4 separate regions of the Homo sapiens genome follow, and regions 1, 3 and 4 are each linked to region 2. Evidence: promoter capture Hi-C in human tissues and cell types (Jung and others, 2019). All regions are on one chromosome and are shown on one strand. Each heading gives the region's core, a stretch centred on a gene start or on the middle of the fragment in contact. The rest is flanking DNA. Distances are from core to core; before and after follow the strand shown. Region 1 has its middle 7.9 kb from the start of ARFGAP3. Region 2 holds the start of RRP7A (ribosomal RNA processing 7 homolog A). Region 3 overlaps NDUFA6-DT (NDUFA6 divergent transcript). Region 4 overlaps TCF20 (transcription factor 20).

Region 1 (3,658 bases), core at 941-3,440, 350 kb after region 2:
GAGACTCCGTTTCAAAAAAAAAAAAAAAAAAAAAAGAAGAAGAAGAAAGAAGAAGGAAGAAGAAGAAACAAAATACTGACATATGAAACCACACAGATGAATGTCAGATGAGTCATGGGAAGTGAAAAAAGACAAGGCTACATATTGCACGGTTCCATTCTTATGGCATTCTGGAAAAGGTAGAAACAGAAAACATCTAAGTGGTTTCTAGGGACTGGGGGTGTAAGGAGGGGTTGACAACAAAAATCCACGTGTTGGGGAGGTGACGGAAGAGTTCTATATCTTGATTGTGGTGATGGTTATGTGATACGGTTTGGCTGTGTCCCACTCAAATCTCATCTTGAATTGTAGTTCCCATAATCCTCATGTGTCAGGAAAGGAACCTGGTGGGAGGTAACTGAATCATGGGGGCAGTTACCCCCATGCTGTTCTCATGATAGTGAGTAAATTCTCATGAGTTCTTATGGTTTTATAAGGGGTTTTCCCCCCTTTGCTCAGCATGTCTCTTTCCTGCTGCCATGTGAAGAAGGATGTGTTTGCTGCCCCTTCTGCTATGATTATAAGTTTCCTGAGGCTTCCCCAGCCATGCAGATGTGTGAGTCAATTAAACCTTTTTCCTTTATAAATTACCCAGTCTTGAGCAAGTTCTTTGTGGCAGCATGAGAATGGACTAGTACATTACATAACTGTATACATTCATCAAAACTTCAAGAACTGTACACTAAAAGGAGTGTTTTTGGCCTGGCGCAGTGGCTCACGCTTGTAATCCCAGCATTTTGGGAGGCTGAGGTGGGTGGATCATGAGGTCAGGAGTTCGAGACCAGTCTGACCAACATGGTGAAACCCCCCTCTACTAAAAATACAAAAATTAGCTGGGCATGGTGGTGGGTGCCTGTAGTCCCAGCTACTCAAGAGGCTGAGGCAGGAGAATCGCTTGAACCCAGGAGGCAGAGGTTGCAGTGAGCCAAGATGGCATCACTGTACTCCAGCCTGGGCAACAGAGGGAGACTCCATCTCAACAACAACAAAAAAAGTATATACATAAATTATACCTTAAGAACTGAGAAAAATGGGAAACAAAGCAAATGCTCAGCAACATGGGACTTACAGCATGAGTATCATTCGGCCACTAAACAGTACACTTCACGCATGAACAACTTGAGCTTGAACTACATGGGTCCACTTACATGTGGATTTTTTTCTTTTTTTTTTCTGAGATGGAGTCTTGCTCTGTCACCCAGGCTGGAGTGTGGTAGCACGATCTCAGCTCACTGCAACCTCTACCTCCCAGGTTCAAGCAATTCTCCTGCCTCAGCCTCCCAAGTAGCTGGGATTACAGGTGTGTGCCACCATGCCTGGCTAATTTTTGTATTTTTAGTAGAGACGGGGTTTCACCATGTTGGCTAGGCTGGTCTCCAACTCCTGACCTCATCCTCCCACCTCGGCCTCCCAAAGTGCTGGGATTACAGGTATGACCCACCATGCCCAGCCAGATTTTTTTCAATAAAAGTTACACTTGAGTGTGCCAGCCTTTCCTGTTGCTCCTTCCACCTCCTCTACTTCTTTCACTTCTTTTTTTGAGACAGGGTCTTGCTCTGTTTCCCAGGCGGGAGTGCAGTGGTGCAATCATGGCTCACGGCAGCCTTGACCTCTCAGGCTATAGTGATCCTCCCACCTCAGCCTCCTGAGTAGCTGGAACTACAGGTGTGTGCTACCATGCCTGGCTAATTTTTTTTTTATTTTTGGTAGAGACAGGGTGTCCCTGTGTTACCCAAGCTGGATTAGAACTCCTGGGCTCAAGTGATCCTCCCACCTCGGCCTCCCAAAGTGCTGGCATTACACGTATGAGCCACTATGTCTGGTGTTTATTTTTAATTGAAGTATATTTAGGGACATGAGAAAATGCTCATGATCAAATGGCAGGAGAACGAAACTATATTTACAGTACGATCCCAATTTTGTAAGACACATACACACATTGATGATGATGATGACGACAAGAAAACAGCACATGTGGCTGGGCGTGGTGGCTCACACCTGTAATCCCAGCTACTCGGGAGGCTGAGGCAGGAGAATTGTTGAACCTGAGAGGTGGGGGGCACAGGGAGCCGAGATTGTGCCATTGCACTCCAGCCTTGGGCAACGAGAGTGAAATTCCACCTCAAGAAAAGAAAAGAAAAAAAGAAAATGGCACATGTGCATATATGTTAGGAAAAATACCAGAAAAAAATACACCCCAATGTTAGCAATGTAACCTCTGGAAGTCAGGATCACAGATAACTAATGTTTTTCTGAATACCTTTACTAAATTTCCAAATTTTCATCTGAGCCTTTGTTCCTTTTACAATCAGGAAAAAATAATTAAGATTCCTATTGGAAAATACCATAAAGTGGCAGGGCCACCTGGCTGTCTTTGCCCAGAAGCGGCCAGTGACTGTATGTAGTTCACATGCCCTGAGGCGGCTGCCTTGGTGATCCGAATGCTGTTGAGCTCAGGGTCTTTTAGGTCCTCGTACCCTAACCCTAACCCTAACCCTAACCCTAAGGCGCTCTGGGTTTCTGCAACCTTCGGGAGGTCTAGCACCTAGTATTCCTCTGGCGTCTGAGTTTTGGTCCACTGGCCGTTGGTGCTGGTATCCTTTCCCCTAAGAGTGACATCACTTATTTAGTTCATTTCTTTCTTCCTTCCTTCCTTTCCTAGCCCTTTCCACAAAGGATTTGTAGATGCCTAGAACAATATAATCTGGGTTTCATAGGATAGTCCCAGATTTGTTGCGTTTTCTTTTTTCTTTTTGGTTTAGTGCCACATACCCAGGCTAGAGGGAGGATGAGCACTGTGGTTCCTCCGACCCTGTGCCTGGTGGTGGTCATGCCTGGCCAGAAATGAGCCTCGTACCTCAACTGCAGGCGAGGCCAGATTTAGCTCAGTTTGGGCACATCCTCCCAGGTGTGGTGGAGCCACCTCCATCCTGACCCTGGTTCTTTTCACTGGCTGGCACCTGGAGCTGACTCCGTCCTGGCCTGAGGGCCCCTCTGCTTGCTGCCACCACAGGGGCCACAGAGATGCAGCCCATTTATTCGGAAAACCGAGGCCCAGAGAGTGGCCTTTGTCTTCCACAGGTGTCTGTGGAAGGGCTGGGGAGGGGCGCAGACCTTCCCTGCCTCAGAGGAGGCTTCAGGAAGGGTGGACAAGGGAGGGGAGCAGAGCGGACAGCCACCACTCTGGGGAGACCTTGGACTGTGAAAAGGGGTGGGGGAAGGAAAGCTTACAGGGCACCCACAGGCTGGGGTGCCCACCTGGCAGGGTCTTTGGCTTCTGAGCACCCCTTAAGTTATCCTCACTTCATCACCCCTGTTTTTTTGTTGTCATTGTTTTGAGACAGAGTTTTGCTCTTATTTCCCAGACTGGAGTGCAGTGGTGCAATCTTGACTTACTGTAACCCCCGCCTCCCGGGTTCACACGATTCTCCTGCCTCAGCCTCCCAAGTAGCTGTGATTACAGGTGCCCACCACCATGCCCGGCTAATTTTTTGTATTTTTAGTAGAAACAGGGTTTTACCATGTTGGCCAGGCTGGTCTCGAACTCCTGATCTCAGGTGATCCACCCGCCTCAGCCTCCCAAACTGCTGGGATTACAGGCATGAGCCACTGTGCCCGC
Region 2 (3,453 bases), core at 1-2,500:
GGTACACCAGGGCCTCACACATGCTGGCCTCTCTACCTGGCGTGTCACCCTCTTCCCTCCCGCTCACCTCAGGTTTAGCTCAAACCTCGCTTCCTCAGGAGAGCCTTAGCATCACCTCCGCCCCTCCTGCCAGCTCAGATCCCACTGCCTGTGCCTTCACAGCTTCTCTTAACAGTCTGGAGGCTATATTGATGAGATTCTTTGGTTAATCGCTGGCACACCCATGACTGTAATCCTCATAAAGCTAGGAACTGCTTCTATTTTTCTCACACCTCCGTCACAGTACCGGTTGGCGTAGAGCTGCGGTCCCTGAACTCAGGAAGCTCAGTTGCAATAACGGAGAAGACAATTAACAAGCATACAGCAAACTTGTATCAATTGTGAAAGAAACATTACAGGGTGATGGGGTGGCAGAGGTCTTCTTTCCATAGGCCATCACGGATGGCCTCTTTGAGGAAGCAACATTAAAGCTCAGGCCAGAACGCCACTGTGCAACAAACCGGCACAGCACGTGCAAAAACCCAGAGGGGGGAAAAAGCATGTTCCCTCAGAGGAACAGAAAGAGCTTTAGGTCGGCACCAGCCAGACCACGTGGCCCACACAGGTTAAGAAGTCTGGTTTTTGTTTTAGAAGCTACCTGATAAAGCCACTGGAGGGAATGCAGTAGGTGTGGCGCCTATCGTGGGCGCGGCAGACATGATCGAATCTAAATGTCCTTAAAAGAACATTCTGGCACGTGGGTGGAGAACAGAAGCAGGGGCAAGAGGAGAAGGAGGGCAACCGAGTAGGAGGGCCTATAACAGCCCAGGTAAGAGCTGATGGGGGATGGACTAGGAGCAGAGGCGATGAGAAGGGGATGGGCTCACCTGGACGAGCGGGTGTGGACGGAAATGGGTTTGTCCTGGGTGAGAGTGTGGACAGAGGCGGGCTCACCCAAGGGAAGCGTGGACCAAGTTGGGCTCGCCCCGGGAGAGTGAGCAGGCAGAAGGGCGCCGCCTGGGTCCTCGGGACCCCGGAGCCTCAAGACCTGCGGAGCCTGGGGCCACGGGCCACCGGGGCTCACACCCAACCGTGCGGCCGCTCCTGGGGACCCCCGGCCGTCGCCAACCCCCAAACACCTCCCGGCGATGCCTGACCGCCCCCGGTCTCGCGTCCCGGAGCCCCTCACCTGCGTAGCCCAGTGGGCTGGGGATACGGTCCTCCGGGTCCCGCGCGGCGCACTTCCTCCTGCGCGCCACCATCTTGCCACCCGGGAGCGCGGGGGCCGCCGGGAGTTGCGGTTCGGCGCCGGCGCGAGCGCGTTTTCGTGGCGCCTGCCCCGCCCCCTCACTCCAAGCCCGCCTCCCCGGCCCCGCCCGCCATGGCCCAACCTTCATCCGCTCAGAGATAAATCAGCGCGCGAAAGTGGGAGCGAATGTCAGAGTTGACCCCGGCCAGTCACGAGTGCGAACTCAGCTTTCCACTCATGCATTCACACGTTGAATAGGCAGTGTGAGAGAAATCCAGGATGGCTGCTAGGTTTTCAGTCTGAGCAACTAAGAGGATGGTGTTGCCATTGACTGAGATGGGAAGACTGCAGGAGAGGGGCCTGCTTGGGGGTGAAAATGGAGTAGATCAGTTCTCTGTGAGCCGTGGTGAGATGCCCATTAGGCCACTCAGGGGACATGTCAGGTGGGCACTTAGATATGAGACTGAACAGACTGAACATCAGAGATGTCAGGCCTGGAGCAATACACACGGGACTGGCCATGGATAGGTTATTGACAGTTACGAGAGGAGCCGGGTGCGGTGATTCATGCCTGTAATCCCAGCAATTTGGGAGGCCGAGGGGGGCGGATCACTTGAGGTCAGGAGTTCCAGACCAGCCTGGCCAACATGGTGAAACCCCGTGTCTACTAGGTACAAAAAGTAGCCGGGCGTGGTAGTGCATGCCTGTAATTCCAGCTACTCGGGAGGCTGAGGCAGGAGAATCGCTTGAACCCAGGAGGCGGAGATTGCAGTTAGCCAAGATCGCCCCACTGCAATCCAGCCTGGGCAACAGAGCGAGACTCTGTCTCAAAAAAAAAAGAAAGAGAAAAAAAAAGAAAGTTATGAGAGGGTGTGATCGCCAAGGGAGCAAGTGTAGATAGGGGAGAAATGAAGTCCAAGGACTCCACTTTTCTGGACTCCAAAGGGCCTCTCAGACTGTGTACCCGCCAGCCCTTGATGTATCTACTATTTCTCTTTTCCCAGTGTACAGTTGCTTCTTGGAAATGCTGTCGGCCCCTTTGGGGAAAGATTAGGAGCCTACTACTGCAAATATTTGTGGTCTGGAGGGGACCCAGCCTCCCTTTCAGTCAGTGACCTCTGGTTCTGAGGCCTAGCTTAGGCCTGGAAACTGGATGAGGGGTTGGGATTTTCCATCAGCAGCTGCCATTACTGTCCTGTTCGCTCGTTTTTTGTTTTTGATCTTTCTTTGCTTAGCGCAGTCAAGCAGTGTTGGGGCTTCCGTGGCCCCTGGGAATACCGTGGTCTACTAGCATTCACCAGAGACTCCTGTGCGCCCAGGATCCCTGGCAGCCACTCTGGCCTTGCTCCTGTTCTGACAGTCACATCAACCGAACCTCTGCTCTCTGGAATCCTATCTCCTGCTGACCTTTCCGAGCCCGGCTCCAGTCCTATTTGCCCTCTTCTACCCTGGCCTCAGAGGACGGCCATGCCGATTGCCCATTGATGCCTAGACCCCCCACTAGTCAAAGCAGTCTCTGGTGAACCCTCCAGAAATACGGTCATCTGGCTTCTCAGATGTTGCATAATAAATCTGTGCCTGCACATCCCCCTCCCCGAGGCCTTTGGCTCCTTCTCAGTGCCCTGCCACCATCGTTCTGTTATCTCCCTCTCATGTATTGCTTCCACGCTTCAAGGAGCCATCTCGATGGATATCAGGACTGGCCACACAACATCACTTTTTTTTTTTTTTTTTTGAGATGGAGTCTCGCTGTGTCGCCAGGCTGGAGTGCAGTGGCGCGATCTCCGCTCACTGCAACCTCCGCCTCCTGGGTTCAAGCAATTCTCCTGCATCAGCCTCCTGAGTAGCTGGGATTACAGGTGTGCACCACCATGACCAGCTAAATTTCTTATTTTTGATAGACACAGAGCTTCGCCATATTGGCCAGGATAGTCTCGATCTCTTGGCCTTGTGATCCGCCCACCTCGGCTTCCCAAAGTGCTGGGATTACAGGCATAAGCCTTTTTTTTTTTTTTTTTTTTTTTTTTTTGAGACGGAGTCTCACTCTGCTGACACCCAGGCTGGAGTGCAGTGCTGCCATCTCAGCTTACTGCAACCTCCACCTCCCGGGTTCAAGCAATTCTCCTGCCTCAGCCTCCCAAGTAGCTGGGATTACAGGCATGTGCCACCACACCCAGCTACTTTTTTGTATTTTTAGTAGAGACAGGGTTTACCATGTTGGCCAG
Region 3 (3,413 bases), core at 428-2,927, 410 kb before region 2:
CTTTGCTGTTTGACTTGATCGTCTGAAAGGAAACGCTTATCTGAATAAGGTGGAGGAGAGCTAAGGGAGATTTTAGTAAGTGCTGTTTCTATAAGCCTTTGTACTAGCCCATGGTTGCATGGTGTGACACAACACCCAACAAGAATGAGTACACCTATTATGACTGCAAGAGAAGTAAGAATTGAGGCTATGATTCCTTTCTATTTACCAAACCACCTGTCTAGCCATCCTGAAGAAGGGTTATTGACTCCAGAATTTTTAGCTAATTCATTAGATAAAATGGTAAGTCCTTGTAAGGCTTTTGTTATGCTCCCATCTGGGGCAGTATGGTTTGGGATGAAGGTACGACACTGAGTTTTAATCATAACACAAACTCTACCTTTTTCAGCTAGTATCATGCCTAGGGCCATTCTGTTTTCCTAAGCCATCTGGCTAGTCAGCCCTAACTCCTCAGCTATTCCTTTGACAGCATCCCTGGTATAATTAATAAACTGCTGTTGGTTATAATAGATGTAATTTATACAGTCTACATTTTTATTAATAGTTACCCATGGAAATATTGATTCAAATCCTGCAGACTATTTGGTCCCGGGCTTTTAATTTATCAGGTACTCCCCATGGGACTCCAGTTGCATCTAAATAAACTTGAGAGTCAAAAAACCTATAAGGGGCTTCTCTTATTTTATGGTGTTGTGGCTTTTCTTTTTCTGGCTGATGAAACGCCAGGGTGAAAGGGATAGCCAAATGGACAAGAGTGCAGGTACCACTCCAGTTACTTGGCAGAGTGTCCAGTAAGGGTCCGCCACAATACCACCATACATCTTCTTGAGGATGACTAAGGGCAGACTGATGGGTAAGCTCTTGGAAAGGCTTAAGCTCACTGCATCCTGTTAAGCTTCCAAGGAACACCAAGTTTTCCCCTTGTCGTGAGAGACAGGACGTGAAATTGACATTGGGAGCCAGAAGCTGGATGGCCCTCTGGGGCTGACCCGCAGGATATTGAACTTTGGGATAGAGCAAAGAGAGAGCTTGGCATGATTGATTGCCCCAAGCTATGGAATCCTGGAAGAGAGCTACCATGCTGCCCATGCCTGGTTGACTGGGGGACCAGCCGAGTGTAAAGGGGTCTATCTGGGTCTCTGGCTGGCCGTGAGCACAAGCATAACAATTGCTTTTGTTTCATGTGCGGACAGAATATTTGGTCCATTCCAACCAGGCATTTGCATCTTGATATTTTGTTTCAATTGCTAAAGTTTGCCTTAGATCATTTACTTCTACAATATCTACTTTAGTCTTATCATTGGGTATAGAAGGTATGGCAGTCTGATTAGAAGAAGGCTTAGAAGGAGAAGAGAGGGAAGAGGGTGAAGAGGATGAGGGATTAATAAAACGCATTTCAAAAGACCCTATGAGGTCTGTGCCGCGTTGGTCCCTATGCCATAGAAGCGACTCAAAGTAGGTCTAGAGGGTCGGTAGAGGCCGGAGTGAGAGTAGAAATCTGCACTGGATTACACTGGTTATACTGAAAATCGAGGGGAGGGGTGCTTCCTTTAGTAAAGTGAATGTATGATTTTAAGTATATACAGCCACATGTTGATGAGGTCCAGCCTTGATACTCAGTTGTCCACAGAACATCATTCCAGCTATGGCAGACCTGTTTCCCTATATTTTATGAGGAGCAAGAGTCTTGGTAGCGGGAGCCTTTTATTTTAAAGTGGCAGAGATACTTTTCTAAGGCTGAGAGTTGCCTTTGACTTTGGAGATCTCTACAGGGTATGACTAAACAGGCATCAAACATAATAACTTGGGGTGAGTTTGATTTAGTCACATTGATAACAAGGTGGTCAGCAACAGAATGAGGAAAGAAGAAAGAGTAATAGAGTAGACGAAAGAGAGTTAAACTTTTCTTAGCTTTAGTTTGAGGGGGTTTTCCCCTGGGATAATGGCCCATGACTCTGGAGGTGACAGTGCTTTCTTGACTCAGGTGTGATGGGTCTATCCTTTTTCTGCTGTCCGGACTGCAGTTTCAGTGGTTAGAAGCACCAGGTAAGGTCCTTCCCAGGCTGGCTCAAGTTTCTCCTCTTTTCAGCTCTTGATAAGGACGTGATCCCCAGGCTGATGTTGATGTACTGGGAACTCCAGAGGCAGAGCCTGTGCTAGGAGACCTTTGGTTTTAAGAAAAGAGAAAGTAGGGGAGAGACTAAGAATATAATTCCTGAGGAACTGGTGTTTTTGGAACATCAGCAGTGGAGTGTAAATAAGGCAATCCATAGAGCATCTTGTAAGGGGAAAGGCCAGTATCTTTTCGAGGAGCAGTTTGGATTCTTTTTTTTTTATTTGGTTTTGTCAAATGTTTTATTGAGTGTAGACATCTGGAGTACTATAAAACATGCATTATCTGTAGATTCAAAAAGGAGCAAGCCACATTGTTCTCACTGTCAAATGTGTTAGGCTTGGCATACATGATGGAGATTAATGAAGTATCATGAGAGTAACATGGTTCTTGAAAAGCTTCTATAATTTGGAGTAGGGTCTTAATCACATGAAAAGCAAAGGTGTTCACATTTAGTGAACTTGCATTTCATTGGGGGGAGAGGGTACACAGTATTTTAATTTTAAAACAAAAATAATTTGTTTGTCAAAGATTCCCATCTCCCCAACTTTATTTGTCCCATTGGTTTTCAGAAATTTTAATTTTTAAAAAATCAGATGCCTTTTGGAAGTTGTATGTTTATCTGAGCAGTAACTAAATTTTATTTCTTCTTCAGTTGTTAAGGTGTGTTAAATTTGAAGAAGATAATATCTCCATCTTCAACAATATAATTTCTGCCTTGTTGTCTGTACTTTCCAGCAGCCTTGACTGCATTTTCAGAACCTTCCTCTTTAAAATCTTCATATTTCATTACTTCAGCCATAATGAATCCCTTTTCAAAATCTGTGTGAATCTTTCCTGCAGCCTGAGGAGCCTTAGTCCCTTTCCTGATGGTCCGTGCACGCACTTCATCTGGGCCTGCAGTGAAAAAGTATTTTAGTTGGAGTGCTGCAAACCCAGCCTTAATGATCTTTGGCAAAGCACTTTGTGTCATGTTCGCTTCCAGATACTGCTGTCTCTCCTCAGCACTCAATTCTTGCAACTTGAGTTCCAAGGCCCCACTAAAAGGAATGACCAAGGCACCTGGGTCATACTTGTCCACCCACTCTTTAATTTTTATCAGCCATTTGTTTTTCTTTCTAATGTAGTCTTTTTCAGAAAGATTAACCAAGTAGACCATTGGTTTTGAAGTCAAAAATAAGTGTTTATTCAACACTTCAATCTCTTTGTCATTCCAATCATGATAGAAGCGAACAGGTTCTTTTGATCTATAACCCAGGATTTTACTTTGCACATTATATCATATTTGGGTTTTAGTTTT
Region 4 (3,691 bases), core at 249-2,748, 340 kb before region 2:
TTATTCATAACAGTCAAAAAGTGGAAGTAACCCAAATGTACAGCAAAGCCCACAGAGATAGAAAGGATTGAGTCCAACAGAGCTTAAAGGGAAAAAAAAATCATAAAAATTTAAAAAAGAAAACAGAATAGTGGTTGCCAGGGACTGGAGGGAAGGGAAGGGAGATGAGTGCTGCTAATGGGTGGGAAGTTTTTTTATGAAGTGACAAAAAAAAAAAAAAAAAAAAAGAAAAGAAAAGAAAAAAAACAACGACAACAGAGAGAATCAAACTGTATGTCCTAATCCTTTGGATGCTCTGGACAAGGGTCTGTGGTCTCCTCTTACCTGCATCAATGGCACACGGGTAATGGTATCGGAAGGAGCAGCCTTTGTTGTAGCAGCCCAAGGTGGCGCCTGCCTCCTGGCAGTGGGAACATTTCTGAAAGGAAGGGAAAAGTCAGGCATGTCAGTATCCCAGATTTGGCCCTCTCCTCCAGGCCTTCCCTGGTCCCCATCTGTTAGACCTCAGCACGTGTCTCTGTGGTTAGAGGAGTCCGTGGTGGCAGGATGAGCTGGTCAATTTCTAAATGCCATTCACTGACCACACCATGGGAAGGGATCCAGCAATAATGTTTTAGACCAAGCCTCACAAATGTTCTCAAATCAACAATACAGCAGGGTGAGATGAGCAATCCATGTCATAAAGGACATGCCAGAGTGGGGTCCCCAGCCCTGCCTCTGGTACCCCCGCCATCCACCCACCCACACACTATGCCAGGCATTTCCTTGCTGCTATCGTGAGCGGCCTGCAGATCTTCCCTGTTTACTTCTGCTGTGAAAATCTGGGGTAAGAGAGGGTAAGGTAGTAGAGTTATATATAAACCTTTTAGAATTAGAAGTGGAATTTGGTTTCTAGTTCTTGTATTTGTAAGAAGATTTTATTTTTATTTTTGATCTACTTACCCCAAATGCCCAATACATTTCCCTTTTCAGAAAATATGGGCTCCTGTGTGCAAATGGTATTTTTATACATGAATCTTATTTTAAATGCACCAGAAAACCTGCCATGAATTTCTGGCTAAGTGAGACATTATTTTGTAATTGAGACACTCCTCCTTATATGGTCAGGTTTTCTTAAAGTGGGGCACATCTCTGTCAGCCCTGTGATGTGGCTGCTGTGAGTGCTCATCCTGTCAGGTAAGAAATGTGTCCTATCAGCAACAAACACATTCATAAAACTCAACCACATGTGACCCTACTAAGGATGCTGGCTCTTCAGATAGCAGAGGCACACAACCAGCAAGACTAGCTGGAAGAGACAGAAACTTGTTCCTGCTTCTATGAAAAATAAAAGTGTTCCCTAAGCAATTACACTGAGCTGGCTCAGGCCCCCGACACAGATACTGATGGAAAACTACACTAACGCCAGCAACAGCAAAGCCCAAGCGCTCGCCACGCTCAGACTGAATGATCTCATCCAGCCCTCTGCACTATTCCACCTGGCAGGCACTCCTAATGCTTCACGTGAAACTCTTGAGACACCAAAGGGAAAATAACTTGTTCCAGGTCAGAGCTGAGATTCTGGATGATCATCTCTGGCATCCTCCAGAGACAAAAGAGGTAGGAACAAGGGCTGGAAGAGATTAGTCCTTCAAAAGCTTTGCCCTGCTCTCAGAAGATCAAGGTCCTTCTGGGTGCCCATAATCAGTAAATGTTTATCATGTGCCCTCGCACCCTTGTTAAGAGAGAAAAGATCATTTGGTCTGGAGTAAACCAAGGACAAGTTCACAGCATTTCTAGTAGCCCTAGACTCTGTCGACCTTTGTCAGTGCCACAGAGCATCTCAGAATCAAAAGGACTATCAACTTCAGAGAAGGGAGTGTGGGTAGTCCATCGGTGGCCAACCTGCAGCCATGTCTGCTGCCACTTTCTTTTTTTGAGATGGAGTCTTGCTTTGTCGCCCAGGCTGGAGTGCAGTAGCGCAATCTTGGCTCACTGCAACCTCTGCCTCCCAGTTTCAAGCCATTCTCCTGCCTCAGCCTCCTGAGTAGCTGGGATTACAGGCGTATGCCACCACGCCAGGCTAATTTTTGTATTTTTAGTAGAGATGGGGTTTTGCATATTGGCCAAGCTGGTCTCAAACTCCTGACCTCATCGCATCTGGCCTCCTGCTGCCACTTTCTTACTCAAGAGGCCCGAAGATATGGCCCTCCCTACCCTGGGGGATGAATCACAGTGAGTGGTGGCCATTTAGGAATGGGTATGGTCAAGCATTTCTGGTAGGAAAGTCTGCAGGAAAAAGGGCTTCTGAAAACATTTTGCACTCCCCCCAACCTTTTTTTTTTTTTTTTTAATATATTTTGAGACGATGTCTTGCTCTGTCACCCAGGATGGAGTGCAGTGGCACAATCATGGCTCACTGCAGTCTCTACCTCCCAGGCTCAGGTGATTCTCCTGACCTCAGCCTCCCGAGTAGCTGAGACTACAGGGTGTGTGCTACCACATCCAGCTTTTTCAAAAAATGTTTTTGTAGAGACAGGGTCTCACTATGTTGCCCAGGCTGTCCTTGAACTCCTGGGCTCAAGCAATTCTCCCATCTCAGCCTCCAAAAGTGCTAAGATTACAAGCATGAAAGTTTCACCCTCTCAAAAAGAGACAAGAGGGAGGAACAGGTAATTTTTCTTGCGCAGCCTCTGTGAGGATTAGACAGTGGGATCTGTGGCAGCCACAGTATCACCATGAGGGGACAGCCCTGAAGACAAAGCCAGCCTGCTGAGGACAGAAGAGTGGCAAGATGGAGAGACCTGGGCCTACCATGACACTGTCAAGCACTAAATCACCCAAACCCAGGACCAGGCCACCTCTAGCCTTGTTACAGGAAACTTGGGTGCTGCTGTAGAAGGGTTAAGTATGCATGCTCTGGAACCTAAATAACTGCCTGGTAAGTGGCTCCACTTTCTAGCTCTGCCTTCTTGGCCAAACTCCTAACCTCTGTTCCTCAACCTACAGACGTGGGACTAATAATAGCACTCACCTCATAGAAATGTCATAAGGGTTAAATGAATTAATTCAGGCTTAAAACAGTGGCTGGGTCAAAAGTGCTAAGTAAATGTGACCCAAGATGACCATGTGTCAGACATATGCTAGATAATCTACAAAGACCATCTCATGAAAAGCAACCACACAGCAGGCCTCATCACCATCCCGGTTTACAAGAGGAAAGAGAAGACGTGGAGCTTAGATCTGAACAATGTCCATTTGCTTCCTACCTCAACTCCACAACCTGGCAAGCAGTGTGCAAACTCCACTATGATTAATTTATAACATTGCATCCAAAGGGGAAAGACTCTCAGGCTGTATTAGGGACTTAGAGAAAGATCCTTAAAGACAGTTTAGTTCAGTGGTTTTTGAAGTGTGGTCCCCTGGAACAGCAGCATCAGCAACACTCAGGGACTTGTCAGAAATGCAGTTTTGTTTTTTGGGTTATTTTTGAGACAGAGTCTCGTTCTGTCACCCAGGCTAGAGTGCAGTGGCACAGTCTTGGCTCACTGCAACCTCCGACTCCCATGTTCAAGTGATTCTCGTGCCTCAGCTTCCCAAGTAGCTAGGATTACAGGCATGAACCACCACACCTGGCAACTTTTTGTTTTTTTACTAGAGACGGGGTTTCAACATGTTGGCCAGGCTGGTCTTGAACTTCTGACCTCAAGTG

The links. Contacts are between HindIII fragments. The study calls those that stand out against the background at their distance.
Region 1: a contact is called between a fragment that was not itself captured here and the fragment with the promoter of RRP7A in region 2, in 1 of the 25 tissues and cell types used here (thymus).
Region 3: a fragment that was not itself captured here is called in contact with the fragment with the promoter of RRP7A in region 2 in 1 of the 25 tissues and cell types used here (lymphoblastoid cells).
Region 4: a fragment that was not itself captured here is called in contact with the fragment with the promoter of RRP7A in region 2 in 1 of the 25 tissues and cell types used here (dorsolateral prefrontal cortex).

What each region holds. Positions count from the first base shown.
Region 1 is chr22:42,863,297-42,866,954 of GRCh38, forward strand. No RefSeq gene overlaps it. Among named protein-coding and RNA genes, the nearest start is that of ARFGAP3, 7.9 kb to the left of the region's middle. The HindIII fragment of the contact is 6,267 bases long and covers 1-3,658 here.
Region 2 is chr22:42,518,546-42,521,998 of GRCh38, forward strand. RRP7A (ribosomal RNA processing 7 homolog A) reads right to left here and starts at 1,251. Exons shown (of 7, transcript NM_015703.5): 1 at 1,169-1,251. The coding sequence starts at 1,241. It overlaps LOC124900479 (a long non-coding RNA gene), which reads left to right. Exons shown (of 3, transcript XR_007068117.1): 1 at 1-808. RefSeq lists silencers at 1,003-1,132, 1,143-1,312, 1,333-1,392 and enhancers at 1,573-1,632, 2,158-2,452. The HindIII fragment of the contact is 27,172 bases long and covers 1-3,453 here.
Region 3 is chr22:42,105,012-42,108,424 of GRCh38, forward strand. All of the region lies in intron 3 of NDUFA6-DT (NDUFA6 divergent transcript), which reads left to right. It also overlaps the pseudogene OLA1P1. Among named protein-coding and RNA genes, the nearest start is that of NDUFA6-DT, 16 kb to the left of the region's middle. The HindIII fragment of the contact is 5,344 bases long and covers 1-3,413 here.
Region 4 is chr22:42,179,285-42,182,975 of GRCh38, forward strand. TCF20 (transcription factor 20) reads right to left here. Exons shown (of 6, transcript NM_001378418.1): 3 at 325-418. Among named protein-coding and RNA genes, the nearest start is that of CYP2D6, 50 kb to the left of the region's middle. The HindIII fragment of the contact is 4,379 bases long and covers 1-3,688 here.